Regions from separate parts of the Homo sapiens genome. Here region 1 is linked to region 2. The links are contacts of gene promoters, found by promoter capture Hi-C in blood cells and fetal thymus (Javierre and others, 2016). All regions are on one chromosome and are shown on one strand. The core of a region is centred on a gene start or on the middle of the fragment in contact, and the rest is flanking DNA. Distances in the headings are between cores, read along the strand shown. Region 1 holds the start of MNAT1 (MNAT1 component of CDK activating kinase). Region 2 holds the start of TIMM9 (translocase of inner mitochondrial membrane 9).

Region 1 (4,751 bases), core at 640-3,139, 2.3 Mb after region 2:
GTTTTGGGAGAAAGGAAAAGCAATTCACTTCGCAACGTGGTTGGGGTCTCATCTTCAAAGACGTAATTAAAACTGTCCTGGATAGCTGGGCATCATTACAGGCTCATGCCTGTAATCCCAGCACTTTGGGAGCCTGAGGTAGGAGGACTGCTTGAGCCCAGGAATTCAAGACCAGCCTGGGCAACATAGTGAGATCCCATTTCTTAAAAAAATAAAATAAAAAATTAGCTGGGACTGGTGGCTAGTGCCTGAGGTCCCAGCTACTTAGAAGGCTGAGGTGGGAGGATGACTTGAGCCCAGGAGTTCAAGGCTGCAATGAATTGTGATCGGGCCACTGCACTCTAGCCTGGGCAACAGAAGGAGATCCTGTTTCAAAACAAACAAACAAACACACAAAAATTGTCCTAGTGGCAATAAACTATAATGCCATCTGAGTGGATGACCTCAATGTAGTATTGGCTAAAAATTTTATTTGCACATATGACATATTCATTCTTTCACCAGAAGTTTCTTGTATGTTATCAGCTGAGCTTACATGACTATGCAGTTATAAAGAAGTATAAAGCACAGGCTATTAAATGGTCCAAAATATAAAGTACTAGAGTTGCCTTTGTTCTTGAAGAGCTTCACTCTGAATCATGTAACTGGTCTGGATGTGGTCTTTCAATAAGACAATAGCAGCAGCATAATAAGCCTCCGGGTCAGCATAGTAGCATAGTATTTGGTGTTACCTATTTTAGTAAGTTTATGTTTGGTTAACTCCTGTTGAGGAACAATATTATGATCAAAGAGATGATATGGTTTATTTATTAGATGAATCCTTGATGTCTTCATACTAATGTAAAGCTCTGTCACAGCCTGCTTTGATCTGCTGGTTCCTGGGTGTGGTATCCAGCTGTTTGTCAGCATCCCTCTCTATACCCATGGAAATCCCAACTGTATTTTTGGGTTTTGGGTTCCCTACCAGGTTCACTGTTTAAAAATGTGAATTGAATATTACTTTTTATTGAAAAGAACACAAGTTCTATGATGAGTTAAAATTACTATAAATGTTTATAGCTTATACTCATTGTATCAGATTATTTGAAAAATCTAGTTTGCATGTTCCCTTCTGATGGAGTTTGGGTCAGATGAAGGTGGTTACAAAAAATGTTTGACACTAAAAATTTTCACATTACACTATTGTTTGATAGTCATTCATTAATTCTTCACTTAGTCTACTTACTCATTAAGAATCAACAAATCTTTATTTTGGAGATGAATAAGATGTGTCCTTTACAGTGGGAAAGCTTATTATTTAATAGAGCTGTTTACAGACTTCAATTTGCCTTCTTGATAAATGTGATGAACATGGTTTACAATTTACAAAGATATTCAGGCTATCAGATCTTGGAATTGCAGAACTAAATTTTTCTGTATGTATTCTTATATGATTTTTTCCTAGGTATTTGGGGAAATAAATACTGTCTGATGGAGTAGATAGCTTTTTCATATTTTGTATCTGCGAATGCATATTATCAGCTGAGCTGACATGACTATGCAATTATAAAGAAGTATAAAGCACAGGCTATTAAATGGTCCAAAAGAAAGTAAGTACACCGCTCATAAATCTTTGAAATCATGGGAATGTTTCCAGACAGAACAAGATGGAATTTATCTTCCTAATTGTGACACAGTACCTTGAAAAATGCAACTGGGTGCGTGGAGATAAGGCTTTGTATAATTTGCCATTTTAAAAGTTCCCCTGTCAAATTCAAGGTATTAAGTTGCTTTATGGAAGGCTAAGACCAAGCCCTAGATGCAAGACCGGGGGAACTGACTGCCGGAACGTTTGTGTTGCAGCGCCTCGCCCCTTGCCGGTGCTCTTTCGCGAAGGGACCGTCTCTGCCAAGCGCCTGTTGGTAGGAACCTGCTTGGTCGCGTCTGAGGGGGCTTGTAGGTGGCTCTGGCTGAAACAGGCGCCTGCGAGAGTCTGTAGGAGGGAAACCGCCATGGACGATCAGGGTTGCCCTCGGTGTAAGACCACCAAATATCGGAACCCCTCCTTGAAGCTGATGGTGAATGTGTGCGGACACACTCTGTGAGTTGGGCGGCAGTGGATTCCCTGGGGGAGAGACGCGCTGGGTGGGAGGAGAGGACCGGGAGATGCTAGGCCTCGTCTTGGGAGCAAAGGGCGTTGTTAGTTTCAACACTGGGGAGGAAAATGGGAAAAGAAGGCGTTGTGACTTTAAATAGACTGTAGCCGCTAGCCCCGAGCGGCTCTGGCCTGCTTTGAACTGCGGGTTCTCAGTGTGGCATCCAGCAGTTTGTCAGGTTCCCCCTTCCATAGCCAATGAGTATCCCGACTGTATTTCCAGGCTTTGTGTTGTTTACTGGGCTCTGGACATCGCTGATTAAAAGCGTGGGGGATTGGAGTGTTTATTTCATATGAAATGTTTTTATTGAAAAAGTGCGAAAGTGCTATGAAAACTTAAAATTTGCTTGAGTATATACTGCTGCTATTTATTGTATGAGTTAATTAAAAAACCCTGTGTGTATGCCCACTTGTCCTGATGGAGTTCGGTTAGACTCCCATCACTAAAATGAAGAAAACCCGGACTGTAGGTAGTTAATTTTGAAGATATAATAATGGCTGGCATTTGAGTGCACATTTTGTGCCAGACAGTGTTCTAAGCGCCTTACCATGAATTATCTCAGTTCATTCCTACAACAGTCCCATGAAGTAGATACTGGTATTTCCATTTCACAGGGAAGGAAATCGAGACTGCTCAAGGTCCCTTATTAAGTGGGCCTTGAGAGAATTGGAACCCAGGAAGTCTGACTTTAGAACGCCCATTTTCAGGGGAAGGGGGCAGAAGGAGGGAGGTTGAGTTTGTGTATTTTGAAACAGGGATTGGTCAAAGTGTTTCTTGCCAGATTTCTTGTCAGATGTGGTTTAGTGAAGGTGGTTCTAGAAAGCACTTTGAGATAAAAAGGTGCCATGTAATGGCGAGCATATATTCCTGTAGTTTCTTTCAGGTTTATTGGAGGCAAAAAATAATGGATAATCTACAGTGTGTAGACAAGGTCTCCTCCCAACCCCCCAAGTGCTGACAAAAATGTAGAGCAATGACAGGGTCTTTAGGTAAGCATAAATTGCATGATTAGCTGTAGCTATAATTATTATATGGAATTTATTAGCTTACTTAACTTTTCTAATTGATCTTTATTTTCCTTTGCTTTACTCTGCAAAGAAGTATAGTAGAGCTGTGATTGAATGATTTAAGATTAGAAGTAAGGTAAAAGTAATCAAGAAGAATGCATGGAAAAGGGAATTCTACATGGAAAAACACTGTAGATAGACTGTTTTTAGAGAGATTTCGTTCAATTTCTCTCCATTTTTCTTTATCAGGTTTGTTATGGTGGAACAGGAAAGAGAGTTTGTTTTTTTTTTTGGGAAGGATACTAACTAAATGTAATTTACCAGAAGGATGCTAAATGTAATTTTCTGGCCTAGCAGCACTTAGCCATTCAGGGAAGATTATACGATTTCAGTAACATAAATGGCATTTTAATTGGGCAAGTATAAAATATTTATTTTAATTGAAATTGCTTTTGTTGTATCCTCAGCCCTTTTTGTTAAGATCTAAGAGTTAAGACTTTTGTCTAATTCATTCTGGTGTTGCATTTAATGTGGTTAATTTGCTAACCTGTTAGATAACAGGCTACATTTTACAGTCCTTTTTTGACTTGAAATGTGAACAAAATGAGTGAAAAGCTGTAGCGTATTGGCTGAGAGAACAAGCTTTGGAATGAGCCTGTCTGATTTCACATTCTTTACTCTTACCGGCTCTGTGGCCTTAGGGAAATGACTAACTCTTTGTTAGCCGTTCTTCTTGTTGGTACAATAGAGAAAATAGTGCTGCTTGTATCACGGTCCTTAAGTATTAAATAATATATGGAAAATATTTAGAGATATTTAGTATTCTGTCACATAATATTTGTTTACTATATATTGGCTATTTTATTATTATTATTCTTTGTGTGGCATGGGTGATAAGCAGAAATAAAATTAAAACAGGACTTATTTGGCCTGCTATGAAATACTTGCACAATAATGATTAGCTTTAAATGATTTCAGTACACTATGAAATGTGAAAATACAGCTTTAATTATAAGGACTCTGTTGTAATTTTCTTAATATGAACTCTTTAGCATGTTGTCTAATTAATCATCCTTTTAAAGAAGTACTTTAATCTAGGCTAACACACTGCTGTTTCTGAATGGAGGAGAGAACTCACTGATTTTTTTGGCAATCATTTAAAAAATTTAAAATTATATAAGCTATTAATAATAAAAGCAACGTAAGTTATTAAGTGAAAGGTAAAAATTTCTGTGGTTCACTTCTCCAGAGGTGACAACTTTTAGGTTGTTTGTGTATATTTTCGGATATTTTCTATGCATATACAAACATGGGTGTGTTTGGGTAGAAAACTTTTTCTTCCTTTAGCATAAACAGGAATATAGCATAAACATATATATATGTGTGTATATATATATATTTCCTTGCTTTTTTCATTATGTATATTGGATAATCTCTCTAGATCAATATGCATATGTTTTCCTCTTTTAACAATTTGATAGTAGTCCATTGTTCAAATATAATTTATTTACCCCAATTTTTAAAATTAATATTTAATTATCCAGTTTTTCCTTGGAGTAAGCATCCATAAATATGCATATATATGTACATATATGTCTTTGAGCATTTA
Region 2 (4,562 bases), core at 127-2,626:
TTACAAAAAAATAATAATTAAAAGGGTCTTTAACGCTGAGCCCTTAAAGTCTTTTTTTTTCTTTTTTTTTTAAGACAGTCTTGATCTGTCACTCAGGCTGGAGCACAATGGCGCGATCTCAGCTCACTGCAACCTCCACCTGCCGGGTTCAAGCAATTCTCTTGCCTCAGCCTCCTGAGTAGCTGGGACTACAGGCGCGCGCCACCATGCCCAGTTAATTTTTTGTATTTTCAGTAGAGGCGGGGTTTCACCTTGCTGGCCAGGCTGGTCTCGAACTCCTGATCTCGTGATCCGCCCGCCTTGGCCTCCCAAAGTGCTGGGATTACAGGCGTGAGCCACCGCGCTCAGACTTTAAAGTCCATTTTAAGTCTAGACTTCTATGAAGGTAGACTGCCGAGATGTAAAAGAAATAAAATTAGTTATTTAGCTTTTAGATCGGATTACATTTTCTGCTTTGATTATTCTAAAGCCTCCAGTAAGGCGTAAAGGGAAAGCTCTAAGTAGCGCATCCTGGGAAATGAGCAGATCAGGGAAGGGGTGTTAGACCTGGTATTATGTCTAAAGACGATTTTCATTTAAAGGAGGATCTTCCCCCGGGCAGCTCAAGGTCACATCGTAAATACCTTATAGTCTAATTCAGTGTCCCAAAACAGGACCCCGACTCCCCAGATCCGGGTTGGGGGTGGCTCAGGGCCTAAAGTTCCTACCCTCGCCCAGGTGACACCATCTCCAGGAAGGTCTGCACCCGACCCGGCGAAGCGCTGTCCCGCTTCGCACCCCCCACTGCTCCAGGTACGTGCGGCGGCCTCCTCGGGAGACCCCGCCACTTTCCTGGAGCGTAGCCTGCCACCCCCCGTCCGGGAACCCCGGATTCTCACGGCAGAGAACAGACACCATACTTAAGCACAGGCTCTCGCATCCGACATCAGTACAAGGCTGGGGGTTGTTGGGGGACGGTTGAGCCTTGGGAGGGAGGGTCAGGGTCTGGACAGGAGCCGCGGCCGCCAGATGGGAAAGAACACGTGGGAGCAGTAATGTCAAGTGACACTTAAACCCTTAGACGCCGATTCGTTATAACGCGAGGAAATCTAGAAGAAAAAGCAGGTACCATCAGCGAATTCTAAAATCTCCTAAGGATTAACTTCGGTTATTTTCTGCTTAGACAACGCTTTCTATTCCCGACTTCCTCTCCAATAATGACCCGAATCTGTCGAAACTTCTTGGAAGCCTAATTTACCTAATCCCACGTCCCTAACGGTCTTCGGAAGCGAAGCAGTGTCAACAGTCCCTGGTAAACACAAGTAGTATTACAAGTCGGGAGCTCTTCAAGTCTTGGATGAGACTGTAGAGCGGTCTTGTGCGGCAATGTGCTACCTTAAAATAAATAAATAAATAAACCCCTGTTATGTCCGGAGTTTGTTTCCACCCGGAGAGGAATGGAAGAGCACCAGAGAGCGCTTAGCTTTCTGGTTGGATGTTTTGGGTGAGTTTCTTGGCGCGCATGCGTGTTGTGTCTCAAGGGCGGGTTTGAAGGGAAGTGGGTGTTGACCTGCGGGCAACTGACGCTGTTGTCAGATTACACCCACGACGGTGCGGGTCTCGGGCGTTCTGGAGATACGTAGGGGTGAATTTATGTTTCCGACGATTGCATCTGGAGGGGTGTGTAAGACTCTGTGGCTGAAGAAAGCTATTACGCTTCTTATGTGGGTCATTATTTTAAAAATAGCATTTCGCTTTTATTTGCTTGACTGCCTCTTCTCAACAAATTTTAAGCCCGCCACTACATGTGTTTGGTTTTGCCCTACCAGCTCTGGGGTTGGGGAGTGCACTGTTATGGTTATTGTTGCTCCTGTGGCCATTCTCTTGTCATCCCCACTTTCACATTTTGGCGTGGTGTATTAATAGACTGAGTGGGATTAATGGGTAAATATGACTTTATAGTCAGCTCTAATCCTGGATTCAATATCAGAATTTAGATTTTCAGCTTTGTGGATGTTCGACATTTTAAAAACAGTTATTGCAAAGAGGTGAAAATTTTGTTCTGAAGTCTTAAGGAAACAGAGAAAGTTTTTCCGTCCTTAAGTGTGGGACTTGTTTTGTGACCAACAATATGAAAGGCTCTGAGGTCAGCTTGGAGAAGAAAAAAAAGATTAAGATGCCAGTGAAGAGACTTCGTGAGGTAGTTTCTCAAAATCATGGAGATCATTTGGTTTTGCTGAAAGATGAGTTGCCCTGTGTTCCTCCGGCATTGTCTGCAAATAAACGTCTTCCTGTTGGAACGGGGACTAGTTTGAATGGAACATCACGTGGTATGTGATTCCATGTAGTTTTTCAACCAGTTTTAGTTTAGTAAATCTTTAGTCCTTATTTGTTTAAATTCCCAAACGTAAGATATAAGTCTAGTTTGTACAGATGTTTGAAAACTGACCCTGTTTCCCGGGAAAATGGCCAGGAAGCCTATAAAATGTTTGAATAGATGGAATGAATGAAACTTTAACGTCCCCTGTTGTGCTTTTTTTTTTTTTTTTTGCATTGACTTTTGCATATTTTTTTTTTTATATTTATGGTGGATACACTTAACTTGTATAATGTGCTTTATTTTCCCCCACGTAGTGTTTTTTATAGTTTTCCCCCAAAGTAGTGCTTTTTACCTAATTCACTACTTTCTTTTCATAGTGGGAAAAGCAGGACTTCTGCCAATTGATGGCTTCTATATTCCAATTCACTTAATCTGTCTAGAGCTCAGTGAAAATAAGGATAACATATGCTTTACCCACTTCGCTGCTAATTGTGAGGATTAAATTAATGAATATGTGAGCAAAAACAGCAAAACGCTTTTGTAATGCTGTTCTTTGGGGGATACAGCGGTGACACTCAAATAGTACTGCTGTTAAATTAGACCTTTACATCGTATACATATTTCTACCCATAGTTTGTCCACATCCAATAGTGTATGGTTATATTTTAAAATGTTTCGTGCTTAATCTCACTTTATTGTCAGTACCGAACCTTATTTTCCCAAATATCAACTGTAAAAACTTTCATTCAGATATGTTTAAATACATTTTCTTAACTTTTTTTGCATGCAAATTGTCTTTCCAACTTCTGCGTTATATGGAGTTTATAGATCTTGAATCATGCATATACAGTTTCTAAAGCTAAGGATCTGATTTTAAAATCACTAAAATCTATTCCTTTGTTTTGTTAGGTTCATCAGACTTAACTTCTGCTAGAAATTGTTACCAGCCTCTATTAGAAAATCCCATGGTGTCAGAAAGTGTAAGCAAAAGGATTCTTAATTATGCTCACGTTAAAATTTTCAGTATTGTCAAATAATGCATTCTTAAATTATGTTTGATTAGCAGCATGCCTTGTTTTTATTTAAATATCACTTACCAAAACAAATGTTTTATATACTACAATTGTGACTTTGAATGGTGTTTGAGACATTAAACAAAAGGCCTTCCCTAGAATCAAAAATACCTATTAGTAAGATAATGGCCGCTGAAAGAGATAGGATAACTGAAAAGAAACTCTCTTACTATTCAGGGAAAAGGTGTTCTTGCCCAGAGACTTAACATGTTCTTAGGTAAAAGAAAAGGAACAACTAACAGTACAATTTTTCTTTAATGTGAGGTGTGCTTGCATGTCATTCTAACACTTGTGAGAATGGTTTTGGTTTTCTTAGAAGGGAGGTTCTTTAAGAATAACATGAAATTATCATCTTAACTTTATAATGCCGAAAGTATTTGATAAATACAATGTTTTGGTTATGAGATCTAATCAGACTTTGACGGCTAATCATAGTGTTGACCTATGTATTGTCAGTTTAATAAGTCTGTATAATGAGAGTTTCACAATATGCTATTTTGAAAATTGAAGCTGGCAAACTAATAATTCAATTGAGACTATATGACAATTTTGTCAAAAGCTCACAATAAAATGTATAATTATTTGCTGTACTTGATCCCTAAGTAAATGCCTAGACTTTGGAGTGTTTTTTTGTTGTTTTGTCTTTTTTTTTTTTAAGCAGGCCTTATTTAATGATATCTAAACTTCTCAAATGTATGGATACACTGTTATTGTATAATTGAGAATAAATGGGTGATCTTCGTGATGTTGTGCCATCCTTATCTACTCCATTTGACTCACAGTGAGTCAGATTTTCACATTTCACTGAAGCAACTGAGATGTTAAATGACTTGCTCTGCTACAAGTGGCAAACTGGTTTGAGTCTGAATCTCAGTGCTACATTTGCTTGCTGGTTCATTTACTCATTCATTCACTTGTCTGATAGTGTATTACTCACCCATTCAACAAATCTTTGAGTAGCTTTAAGGTACATCAGAATTGCATGATGATGGAAATGAAGAATATGAAATACACAGTCCTGCCCTCCCAGAACACAGTAGTCACATAGCTAGTAAACGGTTCTTGATAAATAATAAATCATGAAGTTTATTTAGCCTATTTCTTCCTTTCATATCCCAAAGGATTTTTCTAAAGACGTTGCAGTGCAAGTGTTGCCTTTGGATAAAATAGAAGAGAACAACAAGCAAAAA

Evidence for each region. Contacts are between HindIII fragments. The CHiCAGO score rates a contact against its expected background, and 5 or more counts as called.
Region 1: the fragment with the promoter of MNAT1 here is called in contact with the fragment with the promoter of TIMM9 in region 2 in 2 of 17 cell types (naive CD8 T cells and naive CD4 T cells); the score reaches 5.5 in naive CD8 T cells.

What each region holds. Positions count from the first base shown.
Region 1 is chr14:60,732,872-60,737,622 of GRCh38, forward strand. It overlaps MNAT1 (MNAT1 component of CDK activating kinase), which reads left to right and starts at 1,890. Exons shown (of 8, transcript NM_002431.4): 1 at 1,890-2,080. The coding sequence starts at 1,992. RefSeq lists enhancers at 1,904-2,003, 2,114-2,183. The HindIII fragment of the contact is 2,495 bases long and covers 1,288-3,782 here.
Region 2 is chr14:58,426,155-58,430,716 of GRCh38, forward strand. It overlaps TIMM9 (translocase of inner mitochondrial membrane 9), which reads right to left and starts at 1,377. Exons shown (of 6, transcript NM_012460.4): 1 at 1,238-1,377; 2 at 900-1,088. It overlaps KIAA0586, which reads left to right and starts at 1,565. Exons shown (of 31, transcript NM_001329943.3): 1 at 1,565-2,309; 2 at 3,209-3,279; 3 at 4,494-4,562. The coding sequence starts at 2,111. RefSeq lists enhancers at 1-512, 1,527-1,576, 1,647-1,836. The HindIII fragment of the contact is 11,466 bases long and covers 1-4,562 here.